2 separate regions of the Homo sapiens genome follow, and region 1 is linked to region 2. The links are contacts of gene promoters, found by promoter capture Hi-C in human tissues and cell types (Jung and others, 2019). All regions are on one chromosome and are shown on one strand. Each heading gives the region's core, a stretch centred on a gene start or on the middle of the fragment in contact. The rest is flanking DNA. Distances are from core to core; before and after follow the strand shown.

What was found. The method cuts DNA at HindIII sites, captures the fragments that hold promoters and counts their contacts. A contact is called where the count stands out against the background at its distance.
Region 1: a contact is called between a fragment that was not itself captured here and the fragment with the promoter of CSRNP3 in region 2, in 1 of the 25 tissues and cell types used here (pancreas).

What each region holds. Positions count from the first base shown.
Region 1 is chr2:165,424,063-165,429,264 of GRCh38, reverse strand. No RefSeq gene overlaps it. Among named protein-coding and RNA genes, the nearest start is that of CSRNP3, 43 kb to the left of the region's middle. RefSeq lists an enhancer at 1,836-2,771. The HindIII fragment of the contact is 5,022 bases long and covers 1-4,651 here.
Region 2 is chr2:165,468,046-165,473,709 of GRCh38, reverse strand. It overlaps CSRNP3 (cysteine and serine rich nuclear protein 3), which reads right to left and starts at 4,012. Exons shown (of 7, transcript NM_001172173.2): 1 at 3,970-4,012. The HindIII fragment of the contact is 6,911 bases long and covers 2,445-5,664 here.

The DNA of each region.
Region 1 (5,202 bases), core at 891-3,390, 43 kb after region 2:
AAACCACTTCTGCTTCATACCAAAGTATGATAGTTGTCTCAAGGAAAAGCACATGTGTGATTGAGTCAGGAGCTAAACAAGCTGTCTTTTTTTTTTTCCCATGAAAAGCCATTTTTACTTGAAAGAATGACTGGCAGACTGGTGTTTTAGATTTGGGTATTTGGCAGGCAGTTTCTTGGATATGAAGGAAGTGAGTCTGTCATTTCAAAGAAAACTCAGGGTTTGTTGCCAAAGATAAAATCTGAGCTTTCAAGCAAAAAATTAGAATTTTGGAAATTTGTTTCTGCCACCGTTTACTTGAGGGCTTCCCAACACTTAAAGTTTTTTCTGAGAACAATGGTAACATTAACAACTGTGATTTTGATATTGTCTAATAAAATGTGTCAACATCAAGGACATTCATTTAACTCAATGAATGAATATTTTCTAAATGACGAAGCATGATGTTACAAAACAATGCATTGTAAAATATGTGTTCAAAGTGCAAGAGAGACGAAAAGATTTTAATGTAGCAGAGTGCAAAGATTTCATTGATATAATTTCAAATTTCACATTGCAGCTAACCTTTAAAAAAAACTACCCTTGTCAATTTTTGTAATAGTAATAAAATAATATTCACAATAATCTACAAAGGTTATTAACATATTTCTCACTTTTTCAACTACATATCAATGTGAGATAATTTTTATTAATATAATTCAACTAGAACAACATATTTCAACACTTTAAATCCAGAAACTGGTATGAGAATCCAACTGTCTTCTATTAAGGCTGACATTAAAGAGATTTGCAAAAATAAAAACCAATGCCATTTTTCTCACTTGTTTTGAAAAACAGCGACTTTTTTTTTTTTACACACAGAAAATTATTTATACCAACACATATTCAGTTCATTGTTGTTATTTTAAATAGATTTTAAAATAAATATTTTACAATTATCTCAGTTTTAATTTCTGATACAGTAAATATAGTCCATGTAAACAAAGGCTCTTTGGGATTTTCCAGAAGTTTAAGATTGTCTTGGAAACAAAATTTGGGAACTGCTGTATTAGAATACATCTATTAGATCAGGGAGCTCATGCGGGGATGCCAGGTTTGTAAGTCTGGGAAGTTTTCATTGCAGGAAGGGAAATGTGATTGTCATGGAAGTGTCATGGGATCCTTGGGGTGTCATTTTTCCAGCTAGAAACCTCTGTGGCTGGTGGCATCTTTGCCCAAGTTTTGCTCAGGCCTGCTGGGCTCTTTCAGCCCACTTGGCCTGACAGGCTATGCTCAGCTCATGCTACCGGCCTGGATCCCACACCTGCCAAGGGTGAGACAGGCACAGAGAGCAGCGAGGGGTGTGTGGGCATGTGTGGGGTCCAGCCACTGTACACGAGCAGGCATTTGCTGGCTGCAGTGTGGTAGGCAGCTCCAGGTGCTGCCACAGGTGCCAGCACCATGCGAGGCTGTGGATGGACCAGGTGTACCACAAACAGCTTCCACTGTGGGTACTGGGGAACATGGTGGCTCCCAGAAGCTTGCAGACACCAGGAATCACAGAGCCCCAAAGACAGTATCACAGCCCTGGCTCAGGGAGCTCCTAGGTCTGGGCTCGTTTAAGGGCTGCAGCTCTTTTCTCCTCATCATCAGCAATGTGGTGAGTGGGGGGCATGTTTCAGCTGTTTGCATTACAGGTCTTTCAGTCCCACCATCTGGCAGATCCTGGGTTGTCGTCCCACATCCAGGAAGAATGAGGTACATGGACAACTAGAGGGTAAGCAAGGTGGAGAGGGGTGTCACTGAGCAACGGAACAGCTCTCAGGAGACCTGAAATGGGTAGCTTCTTCCTGCAGCTGGTAGTCCTGATGTCTGTCTGAGTTTGGTTGAGTCTGGGTTTTTATGGGGTCAGAGGGAGTAAATGTGTGCTTACTGGTCCATGGGCAGCTATGGACAGGCCCAGAAAGAGCACTATAAGTTCTCACCCTAGGCCAAGGACTTAATCTGGAAATGGCAGCCCAGGCCCCAGGCTTCAAGCTGTTTCTGGCTTAAAGGTGGGGTTTCACCAGGGACCCACCCCTTTCTGCCCAGGAGCCCATCTGCCTTTTGCCATCAACATGCCATCTATGGCACTAGGCTGTTCATGCTGAGGGGTACCTGCAGGCATGCACTGAGCTGCCCTCACCATCCCCCACCTCCTTCCCAGGATCAGTGGCACCCAAAGTCCAGAGGGGGACAAGGCAGCAGGGGGCTGGCATGTCTGTGCTGCCCCAAGCATGTACACACCCAGCCAGGTCATGACAGTGCCCAGGTTCGACCACAACTTTGCTCTGCACTGAACCATGTGCCAGGAGATGGGTGAGGCCAGAGAGCAGAAGCAAGCACTTCTGAGCCTGCAGGAGTGGGGGTGGGGGTTTTCAGGCCCCCCGAAGGCACAGGGATGCCCGGGTCCAAAGCCACAGCTGGGTGGCTGCAGCTGCACCCAGTTCCTAGCCCCCAACAGCTCTGCGGAACATGCAGCCTTAGCCACGCCTCCCCTGCTGCAGCCAGCATCTTGGTAGTGGCCACTCCAGGCGGGCCTCAACTCCCATCAGAAGGTTGAGTAAAGTTTCTTTATTTCAATGGTTCTTAAATACAATATTTATCAGAATCACTTAGAGTGCTTAATAAAACAGATTTCCTGTCCCACCTCTGGAGTTTCTGATTTAGTAGGTCTGAGGTGGAACCAGATAAGTTTTACTTCTAACAGGTTTCTAGGAAATACTGATGCTATTGGTCCAGGGACCACACTTTGAGAACCACTGCTTTGTGTAAATAAGTGAAGGAAGGGCCATTTGAAAACAGAGACTTCAGTGACTGCTGGTGCCAATTAACCATAGTAGCCAAATTTCATAGATTGAGGGCACAAGATTGCCCTTACCTTATATAATAGCTGTAAATTCAGAGGTCCCCAGGACACTCGTACTCTGACCAGCTGGCTACAATTACTGGATTCCCCCGAACCCCTCAGGCTTAATTATTTACTAGAACAGCTCACACAACTCAGGAAAGTGCTATACTTATGATTATAGCTTTATTATAGTAAAAGGATACAAAAATATAATTAGCCAAAGGGAATGAGGCATAGAATGAGGTTTCGAAGGGTCTGAAAAGCAAAGCTTCCATTTTGTTCCCCATGGAGTCAGGATACCCTTCCAGCATATTGATGTATGACAGTGCATAGAGACTTGCTAACCAGGGGACTCACCTGAGGTTTGTCCAGAGTTTTTGTTGGAGTATCATCACATAGGCAAGATTGATTGAATCACTGTCCATGTGATTAAACCAAATCTCTGACCCCTTTATGCTCCCCAGATATTGAGCTAATATCAAAGTCCCAATCCTCTCATCACATGGTTGGTCTTTCTGGTGTTGCCAGTACCTGTCCCGAGTCATCTCATTAGTATAAAACATGTAGAGTCCACCATGAGTTACCTCACTAGTATAAACAAGGTCTACCATGAATACCATAAACACTCCTGTCACTCAGGAAATTCCAAGGATTTTGAGGCTACTTCTCATAAACTGGGGATGGAGACCAGCCAAATTCTTTATTATACTACAGAGATCAAACGCATAGGCACTGAAATATAGACACCTGAATATGCATGTTTTGCATGAATAAATACTTCTAGTCAGGAGTGGCTTGACTCCAAAGTATTTTGAAACATAAAATAAATAATAAGTCCAGAAAAGCAGTTTGGGAACATTTTATCGGAGATCTTTGAAAATAGCCTAAATATTTTATTCTTTTAATAACAGCAAATCTTTACCTATAACTGTATATATTTGTTACCATACTGCTTTAACCTGAATTCTATTTTAGTAAGATTATGGCAATTCAAAAGATGTCAGGAAGAAGAATGTGGTTTAACCATGTTTCTTAAAAATCTAACTTATATATTATTTGCAACTGGGCCAGTGAAAATTCTCTGAGACTAACAGCTTAACCAAAATAACAAGAGCTGCCCTCATGCTTCCATACAAGTCAGTATCTGACTTCTTAGTTCTGATTACCTATTTAGCTCCAACCCTGGATTCTACATCTGCTTTTGTCTCTGCTAGTCAGTTATCCATTTTGTTTTCTGACTCAATTTTTCTTTAGGATTTCAGCTTTACGGATCCTCCCTAAAATAGTTTTTTGCACCTCAACTATCAATGTTCATTCTGACCCTTCAGCTTGCGTATAGGTGACCTCTCACAATTCCATCATAACCAGCTGCCTAATTATATCCTCCTATTATCAAGTTGGCCATGAAGGACAAGAAATAACTAGTTCCATAATAATGCATTAATTTCTGCATTCTTGCATTTTTCTTATATGCCTGCTCTTTCACTCCCTTACAGCTCTCAGCTCTCAGTCACATAGTGTTATTTCTGCCCTGGCACACTGCTTGGCCATGGCATGATGCATTGTATACAATGAGCACACTAATTCTATCACAATATCTGCATACTAACTACTTCGGCTGAATTGACTATTATACTAATCTACTCTATTCCAAAAAACAGGGGTCTTTAGAATTGTGGTATACAATAAAGAAAACAGCATCTGGCCTGGCTTTGAGAGATTCTGTACATGACTTAATTGCTAGGTACTAAGTGATAAATATGAACAAACAAGCTCATAAAACTTATAGACTAATGGCTTAGAAGTTGCTTCATTATAAACAATATCAGTTAACTACTAAACACATTCATATTACACACATCTACTTAATTATAGTCTACTAATATACTACTATATTGTGTATATTATAAAGCATATATAAACTGGAAAATAAAAAGGATAAATTAAATAATACTTGTATATTCTTCAAAATTTCTACTGTTTTTGGCTAACTTCTTATTAGATTTATAATATGGTTTGGATCTGTGTCCCCACCAAATCTCATGTTGAATTGTAATCCCCTGTGTTGGATGTGAGGCCTGGTGGGAGGTGATTGGATCACAGAGATGGAGTTCTCACGAACGGGTTAGCACCATGCCCTTACTGCTGTTCTTGTGATAGTGAATGAGGGAGTTCTTGTGAGATCTGGTTGCTTTAAAGTGTGTAGTGCCTACCCCTGCAACCCCCATGCTCTCTTTCCTGCTCCAGCCACGTAAGACATTCCTGCTTCTCCCTTCACCTTCCACTATGATTATAGGTCTCCTGAGGCCTCCTCAGAAACCAAGTAGAGGCTA
Region 2 (5,664 bases), core at 2,763-5,262:
TGTGACAATTAGCTTGATAAATCCATTCCTTGCTTCTTCATACCAAATCATAATTAAAAAGCAATAATGCTGCTTTGAACCAACCCCCTTTTAATATCTGTATAAGCCCTGTATTAAACTATCAGGTATTAAATATATTAGTCAAAAATAACATCTGATTAATAATACCTTTGAGTTGTGATGTACTATAGTACAAATGTTAATGTAATTTTTTCATTTGACTGGATTAGTTTATGTATACAGCACAATTTGAATATTATTAAATCTGACCCAAGCTTTCTTACTCTCATGTTATTTCCATTTCTTGTAAATGCCACCCCTCCATTTCCAGCAATAAGAGGTTATTTGCCAAACTAGCATATTTCCATTACAGATGTAAAGTTGTCTACTTATATTATAGGGGAAGTAATTAAGTATTTTGTTTTCTTTAGTATATTTTGTGAGACTTTAAGAGGCCATGAAAACCCACCCACAATTCTGGCAAGCTACGTTTAGCAAAGAAAGAAGCATGAAGCAGTAAGTAGAAATGACTAACAAACTGTATTTTTAAATTATCTGTAGTTGAGAGTAAGCCTACGAAATGCATTCTCTTCAGGATCTTGACAAGCATTGATAATTTTGGTTGTGCCTTAAATAGGGGTTGTCTACACAGGTCACATAATCCATTTACTAGTCTATCTGATTTGTTGTTAGCTTGCTTTTTAATGTCATCAGTGTTTATGCTGAAAGTGCTGTCACTGAAGTGCTTTGCTCGTGTTAATTGATAAAAACAAAATACTTCCCACCATCTTAGCTTTTTTTGAAAATAACGTACTGACATGCCAAATTAATTTAACTTTAAATAATATGTTGGCTACATATTAAATATTTTAACACGTAGTTTAAGCATGTGGTGCTTTATTTGCTACATTGCTAACATTGAATCTAATAGACTAAGGTTAATATTATGAAAATAAAGTATGATATGTCACAAATATTTAAATGAGTTGTAAAGAGAAAATAAGAGTTAGGAATCTCATCTGAATTATAACAAAAATAATAGGAAAGCTGTTAACAGCTTTATGATGATTTTTCCTCTTAACAAATAGCTGAGAGATTTGAAAAAAATGGTGTATGGGATGACAGTGCTGCCTTTGAAGCATGTAATTTTATAATAAAAATGTTTTAAATTAAGGAATTGCCTAGGGTAGAATATGATGATAATTGTGATTTTTTTTTGTATAGAGAAAAGCTACATAAAAGTAATGTTTATTTTCAAAGAAAGCAAAAATGTTTCAAATAAAGCAAAAAGGATATATGTGCATTTACAGTGATTTATATTAAATTTTAAATTAATTACCTTAACATTAACACAAATAGCTTTTAGGTTGTTGGAATGTGTAATTTTTTATACATATTAAATAGATTACAAAGGTAAGGAAATAATTGCATTAATGAAACATGGTTTGGACGTTAAGTTTAAAAAATTCTTATTCTAATGTCAAAATGTGTATTGAATGCTCCTCACTATCCATAGCCTGGACATATACCAAGCTTCTCTCTTTATGATTAAAGTGATTGATACATTAAAAAATACTTCTTAATTTATTGTATTATTCATTATATTGCAAACCACTGCAAACATAAAGAGAAAAAGGAAAGAGTGTTGTGAAAAGGGGACAAAGCTGTATATAGTGAGCTCCATTAAAAACCTACATTTAAATCTTAAAAATGTTTGTACCAAAGGAAAAAAAAATGGTGATGCCTTCCCATTTCTCACTGAAAGCCTTACATGGTTTTCATTTGCCTTGTTTCATCCTTCACTTGGACAGTAACCTCTTAACTGTTTTCTTTCATGCTTTTTTTTTCTCTCTTGTCTCCACTCCAGCACACATTCTCTCTCTCTCTCTATCTCTTCCTGTGGACTCTGCAGTAAAAGCTACCCCAGTTGTCTCATTTTTATAAGACTTGCAGACGTCTGCCAGTGGCTGATAGGAAATGCTGATTGAGAAAGGGTTTATCTACTTTTCATCCAAAATATGTGAACCATTAAGGAAATTATAAAAAGCAGCAACAATATACTCTGGTTTTATTCAGTCCTCTCCCTTAGTGATTATTAAAAGGGTGATATTTTTAGCCAAAGAAAGCAAAATGCATCTGCAGCAGCTGGTTTCCAAGGAAACAGAATAATTTAAAACCATGTGGAACTCTGCTCTCTAATTTTCATCAATTCCCCTTCATTCCTGGAGGTAGCTTTACTCAGAATTTATAATTTCTAAAAAATATAGCTGCATTGATTTATTTCCTCTAATACATTTTAGGAGATGAATATCTGGTCTTATATATCACCTTGAATTTCAATCTTGGGGTGAGGGGTGGATTAATTTCAACCATTGTTTTGCTTAAAAAAACAAAATCGGAAAGATCCATCAATAATTAGAAACATGCCAAAATTTCAGTATTATGTAATAATTTTTGAAATCCAGAAACAGTTCAAAATCAACCATACCAGAATATTTACTTGGTTCATTATGACACTTAACCATATAAACATGTTATTAACTATATTTAGTACTTTTAGGAAATTTAAGGTAATTCTCAATTCATTTAGATAATCCATACTAATATTCAGCAATTTTCTCACTCATTTTAATTTTCCAAGAACTATTATATTTGTGTCTGTTTATTCAAAGACAAAATCTCTCAAACAAAAAAAGTACAATAAATAAAAAAATTTGAAAAACAATAAACAAAAAGAAAAACAATAGCAAAAAATATTTAGAAATTATATAGTCATTCCTATTAGTTTTGATTCATTCAAAAAGGTATTAAAATATGTAGGAACAAATTATTTACCTCATTGAAAGACTTTTATTTTATTATTATAATCAACAGGTATTAATCGATGGCCAGTGTACTGAAGTCAGTCATAATTCTTGAAAGTTCAATTTTAATGAGGTTCTACCACCGTTAAATGACCTGTATTTATGAATTAAAGTAAAGAATTAAGTGACTGGGAGTTCAGTTTTTTTGTATGTTTTTACTGCAAGTGTGTTATTTATTCTACATACTTAGAACTTGTCCCTTTTTTCCCTAAGGCAATATAAAGGACCATATTAGGAGATACAAGCACCTAGTAAAGTTGCTAAAAAAAAATTGCCTAGAGATATTATCAACAATATAAATGCTCTGATGGAATTCTTATCTAGATGTGTTTGACTGATAAATTAAACTACCCATGAAACATGACTGTTAAGATGCTATTTTTTACAGCAATGTTTAATCTTTCAAAATTAGGTTTCTGTGCTTTAAAATAAAAATGGCTCCATGTAAGTTAACAAGTAGAGACAAACCATTGTTTAATTATCACATAAGCTTAAAGTTTGCTGAATAAAATAATGCAAATATTGAACAACATGAGATTTATCAAGAGGAGTAAGTTAAATAACAGGGCTTAAATGCACACAAATCATTCATTCTAAATTAATGCTAAAAGAGTCTACAACCTGCAAAAATAGTTTTCCTAAGCCTTTTACTGTATTGTCAATATTAAAAGCCATCACATGAAATTTTATATTGTATATTCACAGAAGGCTCCATTTTCTCAGGACCTGTGGAATTTACCGAGGTTTTCTCATCCTTCCTGCGATTCCTAGTAACAAGCTTGAATTAAACATTTTTGAAGAGACACATGATGATTCATTTTATCTATTAATTTTGCTTCAGTGACACTTGCATAGAAAGTTATTTAGGATAAGACATGCCTCTGGTGATTGTTTTGTTTTGTTTTTAATCAGCTAAGGATTTTGCAGAGAGAAAGAACAGCAAGCTCATTGCAAAGCTTCCTCAAGTAATAAAAGGGACACACTTTCAGAAAATGTCCTCAGAATAATTTTCCTACTATAAAATTGTTTCCGTAAAAATTAAGAAGCATTCTCTTTTAAAGAAAAAAAGAATTCTCTTTTCTTTTTTTTTATTTTTCGCTCTTACCTGTAAATATGGTTTCTGTACTTCGGCTCCGTCAGAACACACTGAAGAGAGTACACTCCTCCCTCGTCTATCCATCAGGCGGCAGCCAACCAATAACAAAAGCCAGATCCTGGCATTCTCTAGCTCATGCTCCCTGCTTTGCTTCCATTTCTTGTTCCCTCCCACCTCCACTCTTTTAGAGGACGAATCCCTGCAGCTGGGAGAGAGGAAGCGAGTGGAGAAAAGAAATATGGAGAGAAAAGCAGAGATGCAAGATATTTCAAAAAATAGCTCCCAACTATGGAAAATGTCTGCAGATGACCTCAGCTGAAGTAAAAAGTCTTGCTTTGGATTTAGAAAAATAAAGTTAATCAATGCCTCACCTACCTGAAATCAAAGCAAAATGCTCATAGTAAAACCTAGGTAAATTGCCTGTTTTTTAGTTCCCACTGATTTTTCTCAGTGAAAAAAGTGTACCTCCTCATTATACATTTTGATATGCAGACAGAGGAGGGAGACTGAACATCAAGATGACATTTTGCATATTCAGTTTGCAAAGAGATAGAATTAAAATGAATCAACACCCTTTATACTTATGTTTTATATTATTTGCACTACAACCTCTGTTTGACAATGTTTTCATTCAAACGCAGTTTCGAGGCCTAATCAGTATGAAAAATATTTCATTCTGAGCATTAGAATATTCAAATATTTCACAGTTATGTGGTTTGCATTACTTCAGATTCCTTAAATGCCATCAATTTGTGAATAATGGAACTTATTAAAGATTAAAAAGAGATCAGTCACTTGGTTGCCATGCCTCAAAGTGACCAGCTGAACTCCAATTTTATTCTAATAAACTTAAACAAAAATCATTTCACTTCTGAACCTAGAGGCATAACATGCATTAAAGGACAGTTAAAGAAAACACCAAATTAGGATTTTTTAAGGCAATAAAGCAAATTCATCCAGTTTCAAACAGTTTAATTTTTAAAATACTGTAATACAAACCAGGGATCTTTATGATAAAAATTCTCTCAATTGAGCTTCCTCTAGTGGAGGTGGTCTGAAAAATTTCCTTAGAAAGACATATACAGTAGATATCACCACTATAGAGGTATGTACTGGCTACTTGAGGTATTTATAAGCCTTGCTCTTCAATTTCTTAAATCAGTAATGTGTCCTCATGGGAATAAGGCCAAAGGGAGTAAAATTAGAGGGAAGGGCAAGCAAGCATTCTTTAAGAGTTACTGGCATGGTGGCAAATCATTAGTCCAGGAATATCTGTACAGGAAGGGCTTGGGGTGTCAATATTGTTAGGAAAGGAATGGCTGGTGACTTAAACTGATACTAACTTTAGATAGGAGTGCACTGATTTTGCTTAGTTTGCACTGTTATTTAGAGTAGCTTTGGGAGGCTCTGCTAAAGATTATGGGGAAGACTAAACTATCGCTTATTCCCACCGCCAAGTCCTCTGTTGTGAAAAATGCTTTCAAAGCCTTTGTGGTCCTATTGCTAGGAATAACTGGAGGAATCCCTAGGACAGACAGCATTTTTAGAAATAGTTGTTCGGGGCCATCTTCATCAGAACCACTAGGGGAAGATTCATTAAAAATGCAGGTTCATGGGCCTCCTCCAGATTTAATGAATAAGCATTTGAGGAGTTTCTGACTCAGCATTTTTAGCAAGCTCTCCCAGGTGATTTATATGTCAAGT